4 separate regions of the Homo sapiens genome follow, and regions 1, 3 and 4 are each linked to region 2. Evidence: promoter capture Hi-C in human tissues and cell types (Jung and others, 2019). All regions are on one chromosome and are shown on one strand. The core of a region is centred on a gene start or on the middle of the fragment in contact, and the rest is flanking DNA. Distances in the headings are between cores, read along the strand shown. Region 1 overlaps LOC105369917 (a long non-coding RNA gene). Region 2 holds the start of PLXNC1 (plexin C1). Region 3 overlaps USP44 (ubiquitin specific peptidase 44). Region 4 overlaps EEA1 (early endosome antigen 1).

Region 1 (2,749 bases), core at 108-2,607, 1.2 Mb before region 2:
CCAGCTAATTTTTGTATTTCTAGTAGAGACAGGTTTTCACCATGTTGTCCAGGCTGGTCTTGAACTTCTGGCCTCAAATGATCCGCCTGCCTCAGCCTCCCAAAGTGCTGGGATTAAGGCGTGAGCCACCACACCCAGCATCATTAAAGGACCTTAAACAGACAAGTGACATGCAGAGGTTTTTTTTGTATTTTAGAAAGTTTATTTTGTTTATTTTGGAAGAATGGTATGGAAAGGGTCCAAGTGACAGAGAGACCTGTTAAGCTTTTAACTAGGAGGGAAATGATTAGGCAGTAACAGTGGGTGGGAATGGAAAAGGATGCTGGGTATGAGTAACAGTTAGAAATGAGACTCTATAAGATCTGATATGTCAGTGAAGGAAGAATTTAAGGTATCTCCAGCTTCTCACCTGGGCACTTAGAACAGTAGCACTATTTTTTGAGATAGAGAATTCAGGAGGAGGAGGAGAAGAAATGTCTTGTTATCTATTACTGCACAACAAGCCACCCCAGGCTGGGTATGGTGGCCCAGGCCTATAATGCCAGCACTTTGGGAGGCCAAGGTGGGAGGATTGCTTGAGCCCAGGAGCTCAAGATTAGCTTGGGCAACATAGCGAGACCCTGTCTCTATAAAAAAAAGCAAAAAACAAAAAACAAACAAACAAACAAACAAACTTGGAAGCTTAAAAACAACAACCTATATTTATTTATGACCCTGCAGGGATGGCCTGACTCTTTCATGTAGCACTGGCTGGGACAGTTTGAGTACAGCTGAAAAATATCCTCCTTCACAGGGCTGGCAGGCAGTGCCACTGCCATTGGGAGCTGAGTTATGACTGTTAGCCAGTGGGCCCCATTCTCCTTATGAAGGCCTCTCCACATAGCTGCTCGGGTTTCCCCACAACGTGGCATCTGTTTGAAGAAGGAAGACTCCAAGAGGTGAAGATGGAAACTATACATCTCTTAATGCCTGGCCTCAAAAGTTACACAGTCTGCCATTTTTCAAAGCCTGTCACAGGCCAGCCCAGATTCAATGGGAACAGAAATAGCCTTCCATCTCTTGATGGGTAGAGTGGCAAAGAATACACAGCCATTTTCAATCCACCATAAGAACATTTGAAGAAAAAGATGAAAATTTCAGGTGGGACATGTTGAGTTTGAGGTACCTGAGTGACATCAATGTAGAGACATCAAGAAGTAGGCAAGTCAGCGCACAGGTCTGGTGATCAGAGGAGAGCACTAGCTTTGATAGACATTTGGTCACTTGGTAGACATAAATAGTAGTTAGAATTATGCGTTATCCAAAGAGTGTGTGAAGAGAGTGAATGGCAGGAGACAAGATGCAAGCTTTTAGTACAATAGATATTTAGAGGTCAAGTAGAGAAAAAGTCTTCATGAAATGAAGACTAGGAAGCAAGACCTAGAGAAACAGAAAGAAGACAGAAGAGAAAGTGGCCATAGAAGCCCAGCAGAGAGTTGGAGGAGACACTGTTCAATAATTTCAAATGTCATAAAGAGGTCAAGTAGGCCAGGTGCAGTGGCTCACGCCTTAATCTCAGCACTTTGGGAGGCGAAGGCAGGTGGATCACTTGAGCCCAGGAGTTCCAGACCAGCCTAGGCAACATGGCGAAATCCTGTCTCTACAAAAAATACAAAATTTAGCCATGTGTGGTGATGTGTGCCTATGGCACTAGCTACTAGGGAGGCTGAGATGGGAGAATCACCCGAGCCCCAGTAGGGCAAGGCTACAGTGAGCCGTCATTGCACCACTGCACTCCAGCCTGGGCGACAGAGTGAGACTCTATCTAAATAAATAAATAGGTCAAGTAATATTAGAAACATGAAAATGTCGACTGGTCTTGGCAATACAGAGGTCTTTGGTGAGCTTATGAAGGCATTTCTAATGTAGGAATGAGGATAGAGTTTTAAATTTTTTGTTCAAGGATGCAAATATTGCTGAATGAAGCAAAAGATTTGTTGCCTGGAATTTAATATCTTTACAACTCTTTGTTCTTTTAGAGTCATTCGGATTCCTTTCGGTTGCTCAAATATAACATTGTATCTGCTTCTAAATTCATGGGCAACAATTGTCCTCTTCTGGTTCAAAGGCACAATATAATCCCAGGAATTTTTTTGGTATGTGCTTTGAGATATAATGACTCTTTTGACTGGGCTGTTGTGTATGATGTTTGCATGACTTGGGGATTATTCATAGGGTCAACAGAAGGCTACCAAAATAGCTCAGCTTAAATCACAACCTTGGGATAACCCTTGACTTCAGGTCTTCTTATAACTGCAGATTTAACACTGTTGCATTATCTTTACTGTTACTCTAATGAATTTAAAAATTGAATACTCTGTTAAAACTGAGGTGGCCGGCCGGGCGCGGTGGCGCACGCCTGTAATCCCAGCACTTTGGGAGGCCGAGGCGGGAGGATCACGAGGTCAGGAGATCGAGACCATCCCGGCTAAAACGGTGAAACCCCGTCTCTACTAAAAATACAAAAAATTAGCCGGGCGTAGTGGCGGGCGCCTGTAGTCCCAGCTACTTGGGAGGCTGAGGCAGGAGAATGGCGTGAACCCGGGAGGCGGAGCTTGCAGTGAGCCGAGATCCCGCCACTGCACTCCAGCCTGGGCGACAGAGCGAGACTCCTTCTCAAAAAAAAAAAAAAAAAAAAAAAAAAAAAAAAAAAACTGAGGTGGCCATATCATTCGCCTCATGAGTTCATATAAAAATTAAGTGCTAAAAT
Region 2 (2,700 bases), core at 80-2,579:
CGCTGAACACTCCCGCCCAGACGTCCAGGGCCTCCACTAGGCTGGAGGAGAGGAGCAGGCGGCGGCCGTCGGGGTGGCCGTGGCCGCAGTCGAGGGATGCCTGGCCCTGGAACAGCACCTCGGTGCTCTGCGCGATGCGCGCCATGCTGGGCCAGCCGGTGGCAGCGCCGCTCGTGTAGTTGTAGGGGTAGTAGGGGAAGTAGATGCTGCCGTTCCAGAGAAAGGCGTCCACGAAGTGCAGGCTGCCCGCGCCCTCGCACAGCTTGAGGCGCCCCAGCTCCTGCGTGGCCAGGCTGCGCCCCTCCGTGTCCTTGAGCGCGATGGCCGTGTCGTGGTCGGATGCCGCGGGGTTGCAGCGGCTCGCCGTCTCCGGCTCAGGCAGCACGTAGGTGGCGGCCACCGCCAGGTACCAGCGGTTGTTCCGGCCCGCGCGGTACACCACGCCGGCCGTCGAGCCCTGCGGGTGGCACGACACCACCTCGGTGCCGTTGCGCAGGGAGTTGCGGCTCAGGTTGCCCAGGGGCCGCACCTCGCAGGCGCCCCGGTCGAAGGTCCAGCCGGTGAGCAGCAGCCCCCCGAGGCCGGCCGCCCCCTCGCGGTAGGGCAGCAGCAGCTTGCTGAAGCTGCTCCCGGGCCGGGGCCGCGCGGGGGGCGCCAGCGAGACCGGCTCTGTGCAGTTGCCCGCTTGGTCCCGGTACAGGCGCGAGAGGCTGTGCTCCAGGCTGTAGTCCAGCTGGTCCAGGCAGCTGCCGCTCGCCACAAACACGCCGTCCTCCTGGCTCGCCGCGATGGCTCCGATGGCTTGCTCCGACCGCCACACGGGCTCGTCCGCGCCCCGGCCGGGAGCCGCCAGTGCCAGCAGATAGGCGAGCAGGGGCAGTGGCGCTGCGGGGCGCGGGGGGCGCGGCGGCGCCTTCCTCCGGGAGACCTCCATGGGGCTGGGGGGGCCGCCCCCGGGCAGGGCGCGCGGCGGCGACGGCGGCTCAGGCGCGCGGCAACGGAGACGCGGGCGGCGGCGGCGGCGGTTCCTGCGCGCGCTCGGGCTCCCGCGGCCGCCCCATCCCCGCAGCTCGCCCAGGAAGGAGAGCGGGGAGGGCGGCGCGCGGCAGGCTCGCTCCGGCAGCCTGTGCAGCGGCGGTGGCGGCAGCAAGCCCTGCGCGCTCCGGCACCGTTTCCTCCTCGCCCTCCTTCGCCGGAGAGTTCCTGTGTGCAGCGCTGGCGCTCGCGGGGAGGCGCGGAGGGGAAGGGAGGGGACGGGCGGAGAGGAGCGAGGCGGGCGGGGAGGGCTGGAGAGGTTGGGTGCGCTTGTGCGTTTCACTTTCCCATTGTGAAAGTGGGATGCAACTGGCCCCCTTCCTCATCCTCTCTTCCTCCTCCGCCCTCCGCCTCCTGCCCGCCCGCCCGCCCTCCCTCCACGCCCATCTCCCCTCCCCTCTTGATTCGGTGAGATAGGGAGGAGGGAGGTCTCGTAATTTGGGTTACTGTGTAGGTGGCCTCTTTCATCTATTCATAACAAAGCTCAGCCGCCCGCCGCGGCCGCCGCGGCCGCCACCATCGCCCCCTTGGCTCGCCTGGGGCTCCCGGGGCGCGCTAACGGCGCACGGAGCGGGCTCCCGCGCCCGTCCGCCCGCGGTGCTGCTCCAACGCCCGGTTTTGTTTACGACAGCAGCCGGGTCGGGGATACGCCAGGCGCGCGGAGCGAGGATCCAGGGTGCGAAGGGGTTGCAGCTGAGGCCCCGGGCTCGGGCCACAGGGCTGCTGCGAGAGCGGCTGACAGGTGTGGAGCGGCGAGAGGGAGGCCCCGGGGAGGCGCGCGGGAGACATGGCCGAGCCGGAGACTCCGGGGACCAAGGCGCCCCTGTGACAGGGTGTGGGTTTCCCCGGGTCGGATGAGTGAGGTGGCAGAAAGGCAGGCGCCACACTCTCGTTCTGGACAATCCCCAGGGCCGGAGCGCCCATATTTGCAAAGGTTCTCTAATCTCCCTTGGCAACAGAGTCCCAGGCTCTCAAGCCTAGCACTTGGAAAGTTCTGCTCACCATCTAACCTAATGAGCGGGGCTAACATTTACTGAGCACTTACTACGTGCCGGGTGCGCTTGTGAACTCACCACATGGGTTAAGACTCATAATTCTCATAACAGCCCTATTAATTAGTGACTGTTATTGTCATCCCTACTTAGTAGTCCAGGAGAATGGTTATAGAAAGGTTGTGGAACGTGCTGGCATTCTACTGCTGGTAGATATCAGAGCCGAGATTCGAATCCATATCTAGCCCCAGGGCCTCTTACATACCTGGCTCTAGTTAAGTGCCACCTGTGGCCATTGCCATAATCCCCCAGAGATCATTCTCTGTAGTGAGACTGAAAAGTTCCTCAAGTTAAATGCACCAACCAGCCCCCGCCCTGCTTTCTACTATTAGACCCAAGTCCCCGTATTTCCCTCGAGGCTCTCCATCTGTCTCATCATTACCCACTTTTATCCTTTGGACCCCCTGAGGTCTCACCACCTCACCCAGAGGGTGAATAACAGCTGGGTTGCCCCCACAGCCGCCAAGAATTTCTGAAGCACAGGGAATCATTGCCCACTGGGGAATAGGTTCATGATTTCTCGGAATGGGGCTTCCCAGAGGATGCACAAATGCCTCCCAGCTTCCCGGGGCAGCTGCGGGCACCATCAGCACCCTTACAGTCTGGCAGATGA
Region 3 (2,700 bases), core at 109-2,608, 1.4 Mb before region 2:
TAGATAAGAAAAAGTATTTTATCTTGGGTTGGACTTGGAGGCTGGAGTTCAGGCTTTAACCGATTTCTAAATTGACTACTAAATCATAAACAAAGCTACTCGACCACTTATTTTCTTAGGGAGAATGCCTCTGCAGGTACTAAAAAATGAGAGTTAATGCATGAAATATTTTCTGTAGGTTTTGCAGTACTTTTGACTAAGGGCTGGAGGGATATAATAATGAGGATAGTCTTGTTGCTAACTAAAAGTCAGAGTGTTAACTTTTCTTAAAGACACACTTCAAAAAGCAGATCGTATGTTTACTGGTTTACTTCAGTTAATTTCGTTAAAGAAATAGGGTACCTAATGAACTGGGGGATCATAGATATTTGGAACAAACACTGCGTTCAAGTTTAACACACAAAACTCACTTATTTTCTGCCTTCTAGGATAGTCTAGTTCTAGCAAAAGTGATTGGATTGAGATTTTATTTTTTACTCCCCCCAACACCTTTTTTTTTTGTGAGATGGAGTCTCGCTCTGTCGCCCAGGCTGGAGTGCAGTGGGACGATCTCAGCTCACTGCAACCTCTGCCTCCCGGGTTCAAGCAATTCTCCTGCCTCAGCCTCCCAAGTAGTTGGGACTACAGGCACATGCCACCATGCCTGGATAATTTTTTGTATTTTCAGTAGAGACGGGGTTTCACCATGTTAGCCAGGATGGTCTCAATCTCCTGACCTTGTGATGCGCCTGCCTCGGCCTCCCAAAGTGGTGGGATTACAGGCATGAGCCACCACACCCAGCCTTACTTCCCCTTTTGATACTTACTGTTGAACAAAGAATGAAACTCCAACTCCCCACCCCCACCCAACACAGCCCAAACAGAAAAAGAGAGGTGAGGACAAGAAGCCCAATAATCCACCAGGGTAACTCAACACTGAGCTACCAAAAACTACCAAGTTAATTGTACACTATTGGCTTTTTTTTTTTTTTTTTTTTTTTTTTTTTGAGACAGAGTCTCACTCTTTCCCCTGGGCTAGAGTACAGCAGCATGATCTCGGCTCACTGCAACCTCCGCCTCCCAAGTAGCTGGGATTGCAGGTGTGCACCACCACGCCTGGCTAATTTTTGTATTTTTAGTAGAGACGGGGTTTCACCATGTTGGCCAGGCTGGTCTTGAACTCCTGGCCTTAAGTGATCTGTCAGCCTTGGTCTCCCAAAGTGCCGGGTTTACAGGCGTGAGCCACCATGCCCGACCCAATTTGCCTTTTAATACAGATTGAGGGCCGGGCGCGGTGGCTCACGCTTGTAATCCCAGCACTTTGGGAGGCCGAGGCGGGTGGATCACGAGGTCAGGAGATCGAGACCACGGTGAAACCCCGTCTCTACTAAAAATAAAAAAAAAAAATTAGCCGGGCGTGGTGGCGGGTGCCTGTAGTCCCAGCTACTCGGAGAGGCTGAGGCAGGAGAATGGCGTGAACCCGGGAGGCGGAGCTTGCAGTGAGCCGAGACTGCGCCACTGTACTCCAGCCTGGGTGACAGAGCGAGACTCCATCTCAAAAAAAAAAAAAAAAAAAAAAAAATACAGATTGAGTATACCTTGTCTGAAATGCTCGGGACCATAAGTGTTTTGAATTTTGGATTTTTTTGCATAGACATTATGAGGTATTGTAAGGATGGGACCCAGGTTTAGACATGAAATTCATTTGCTTCATATACACCTTGTACACATAGCCTAAATATTTTATACAACACTTTAAATAATGAAACAGTTTCATTAACAGAGTGCATATAACAAAGTTTGTACATTGAGCAATCAGCAAACAAAGGTGTCACTATCTCAGCCACTCATATGGACAGTCTGGTGGTTTGGCATCACCATAATTCCTGGCTGATTTTTATATGCTAATATAAGCAGTCATTAGCATACTTATGTGCATGTAATGTACATAAGTGCATTATGCTTATGTGCCCATAAGTTTCACAGTAAAAAATATTAATACAGTGGAAAAAAATGTGTTCAGGGTTACTTATGACATCATGTTGGCACAAAAAGTTTTGGTTTGGAATTTTTTTTTTTAAGACAGTCCCTCTATCACCCAGGCTTGAGGGCAAGCTGCGCCATCCTTGCTCACTGCAACCTCTGCCTCCCAGGTTCAAGCCATTCTCTTGCTTCAGCCTCCTGAGTAGCTGGGAATTCAGGTGTGCACCACCACGCCTGGCGAATTTTTGTATTTTTAGTAGAGACAGGTTTCACCATGTTGGCCAGGCTGGTCTCTAACTCCTGGCCTCAGGTGATCTGCCTGCCTCGGCCTTCCAAAGTGCTAGGATTACAGGCATGAGCCACCATGCCTGGCCAGATTTTGGAATTAGGGATGATCATCCTGTATGATTAGTGGCAAAAGCATTAACTGGTAGATTTACACAAAGAATAAATAGTGTCAGGTACTCTAATCAGTCACATGCTGTGAAAAACTTAAGCTACTTTTAGAATAAAGGTAGATAATTCCAGGGTAACACTGCCCAATCTATATTTCTCATTAAAGAAAAATGAATTGGCTAGAAAATTATTTTCCCTTCAGAAAAAGCTTCTCACTCAATGCCTTTCATACTAGAATTTTCTAAAGTCCCTTCATAAATGTATTTCTGTGCTTCACTCTAGGGTTCTGGGTACACTGCAATGATTCCAAACTAAGCATGTGCACTATGGATGAAGTATGCA
Region 4 (2,700 bases), core at 22-2,521, 1.2 Mb after region 2:
AGGCGCAGGTAGTACTGTGAGGAGTGTGAACAATGAAGCTTAGGAAGTGAGATGGTCTGTAGCAATTAGTAAGAGATGAAGCTACCGTGGTGGCTAGAGACCAAATTGTGAGAGGACGTAAGAGTCCCTTTGAAGGAGTTCAGCTTTTATCTTGTAGTTGGGTCAGTGTTAATGCTGAGTATTTAATAGGGACATTTTGATAAATGTCTTAAATCTGGTGATTTACTAGTTTAGAAGGTAGAATATATATTTTATTAACTCTACAAGTGGTATTTACCAACAAGTATAACTTGAATCTTTAAATTGTGTAACATGGCAACCTATTTTACCCCTCCCTGCTAATCTTATTTCTCAGCACAGATATTAAGCTATAAGATTAAAGCTATTGTTAATTTAGAGATTTATTTGAAATGGACTCTGTGCTTTGAAATTATGTGGCATTCCTTGGCTGGGTGCAGTGGCTCATTCCTGTAATCCCAGCACTTTGGGAGGCCGAGACGGGCGGATCACCTGAGGTCGGGAGTTCGAGACCAGCCTGACCAACATGGAGAAACCCTGACTCTACTAAAAATACAAAATTAGCCGGGAGTGGTGGTGCATGCCTATAATCCCAGCGACTCAGGAGGCTGAGGTAGGAGAATCACTTGAACCCGGGAGGTGGAGATTGCAGTGAGCTGAGATTGCTCCATTGCACTCCAGCCTGAGCAACAAGACCGGAACTCCGTCTAAAAAAAAAAAAAAAATTATGTGGCATTCCTTTAGCATTTTGTTTTTAGATGAACTTTTCATTTTAACTATTCTTATTTTCTTCTGAATAGTTTCCTTTAAATAGCATTTTTTAAAAGAAGAAACAGACAAACTGCTTACCATCAATTAGAACTCAAAGTGTTTGAACATCATCAATAAGTCTCAGGATACTTTACGGAAATTTGGTTTCTGGTTCTCCTGCTTTTGTCCCTCCTCCTGCTCCTCCTTTTTCATTAGCTTACTAAGGTGTTTCTCTGAGGCTTGAAAGAAGCTGGAAAACAAAAACAAAAAAACCTCAAAACAAAACCAAAGTGAAGTAGCTCCAATATGTATGTATTGAATATTTTACTTAATAGTCCTTCAAAGAAAAACATGAATTTAAAGTACTTGATGGTTAGAAATTTAATCAACGTTTAGTACCTTAGGCAGCTTGTAAACCTTGTTGCCATTTCTTTCTTAAGTATTATAACTTACTGTGGGCTGGCTTAGTGGCTCATGCCTGTAATTCCATCACTTTGGGAAGCCGAGGCGTGCAGATCACTGAGATCAGGAGTTCGAGACCAGCTTGGTCAATGTGGTGAAACCCCGTCACTACCAAAAAATACAAAAATTAGCCGGGCATCGTGGTGCACGCCTGTAGTCCCAACTACTTGGGAGACTGAGGTGGGAGAATTGCTTGAACCTGGGAGGCAGAGGTTGCAGTGAGCCAAGATCGTGCCACTGCACTCCAGCAACAGAGTGAGACCCTGTGTTAAAAACAAAACAAAACAAAACAAAAAAACTGTGATTAGTGTTTTTTTTTTTTTTTTTGAGACATCTTTTGTGGGCCAACTGTGTGCTGTGCAGACAATGATGGGTAAAGTAGTCATGAATTTTTTGTGGAGTTTAGCGTCCAGTGGAAGAGAGAGGAATTGTTCAGAGATTCATACAACTATACTCTTGAATGAGTTCTAGGAAGGACAAACTCAGGATGCCCCAAGAACACCCAGCAAGAGGGCCCTGGTTTTAGATGTTGGGAAGGCTTCCCAGATTAGTTGCCCATCTAAGTTTGATGAAAGTATTGCTAATTTATTGAAGTGAATTTTAAAAAGTGACAGCTAATGGAATGATTTTCTTTTTGAGTAGTTTTTTTTTTTTTTTTTTTTTTTTTTAGCATGTTAGGAATAAAGAAGAGATTAAGATATTAAAGAACCAGGACTAGAACTAAGAATAAAGAAGACGTTAAGAAATGAAAAGAACCAGGGCTAGTACTCAATTTTCTTCTCTAATTCCAGTGGCCTTTTGCTTGAGCTAAAGAAATAATGTAATTTAGTAGTTAAGAACATGAACTCTGATGCCAGACTACCTGGGTTTGTATCCTGTTTCATTTACTATCTGTGTAGTTTTGGAGAAGTTACTTCTCTGTGTCTCAGTAAAATAGTTGTAATAATACTAGCCTCCTTATAAAGTTGAGAACTAGATAACTAATATGTATAAAAGTCTCAGCCAGGCGCGGTGGCTCATGCCTGTAATCCCAGCACTTTGGGAGGCTGAGGTGGGTGGATCACCTGAGGTCAGGAGTTTGAGACCAGCCTGGCCAACATAGTGAAACCCCGTCTCTACTAAAAATAGAAAAAATTAGCTGGGCGTGGTGGCGGGCACCTGTAATCCCAGCTATTAGGGAAGCTGAGGCAGGGGAACTGCTTGAACCTGGGAGGCTGAGATTGCAGTGAGCCGAGATTGTGCCATTGCACTCTCCAGCCTGGGCAACAAGCAAAACTCCATCCCAAAAAAAAAAAAAAAAAAAAAAAGTCTTAAATGTTAGCTGCTGCTAATGTTGGTGTTTTGTTGTTGTTTTTGGTGTTTAACTTTCTTTTCTTATTTTTTTCTTTTTTGAAACAGGGTCTTGCTCTGTCAGCCAGGATGGAGTGCAGTGACACAGTGACACCGTCACGTTCACTGCAGCCCCTGCCT

Evidence for each region. Contacts are between HindIII fragments. The study calls those that stand out against the background at their distance.
Region 1: a contact is called between a fragment that was not itself captured here and the fragment with the promoter of PLXNC1 in region 2, in 1 of the 25 tissues and cell types used here (heart right ventricle).
Region 3: a contact is called between a fragment that was not itself captured here and the fragment with the promoter of PLXNC1 in region 2, in 1 of the 25 tissues and cell types used here (psoas muscle).
Region 4: a fragment that was not itself captured here is called in contact with the fragment with the promoter of PLXNC1 in region 2 in 1 of the 25 tissues and cell types used here (aorta).

What each region holds. Positions count from the first base shown.
Region 1 is chr12:95,339,759-95,342,507 of GRCh38, reverse strand. It overlaps LOC105369917 (a long non-coding RNA gene), which reads left to right. Exons shown (of 11, transcript XR_001749265.1): 10 at 2,019-2,135. Among named protein-coding and RNA genes, the nearest start is that of MIR3685, 31 kb to the right of the region's middle. The HindIII fragment of the contact is 3,015 bases long and covers 1-2,749 here.
Region 2 is chr12:94,147,206-94,149,905 of GRCh38, reverse strand. It overlaps PLXNC1 (plexin C1), which reads right to left and starts at 1,329. Exons shown (of 31, transcript NM_005761.3): 1 at 1-1,329. The coding sequence starts at 934. RefSeq lists an enhancer at 203-302 and silencers at 503-742, 873-1,102, 1,173-1,422, 1,433-1,562. The HindIII fragment of the contact is 12,817 bases long and covers 1-2,700 here.
Region 3 is chr12:95,518,294-95,520,993 of GRCh38, reverse strand. USP44 (ubiquitin specific peptidase 44) reads left to right here. Exons shown (of 6, transcript NM_032147.5): 6 at 2,641-2,700. Among named protein-coding and RNA genes, the nearest start is that of USP44, 32 kb to the left of the region's middle. RefSeq lists a silencer at 1,734-1,934. The HindIII fragment of the contact is 8,001 bases long and covers 1-2,700 here.
Region 4 is chr12:92,924,039-92,926,738 of GRCh38, reverse strand. The region is part of intron 1 of EEA1 (early endosome antigen 1); the gene reads left to right. Among named protein-coding and RNA genes, the nearest start is that of EEA1, 3.9 kb to the left of the region's middle. The HindIII fragment of the contact is 4,849 bases long and covers 1-2,700 here.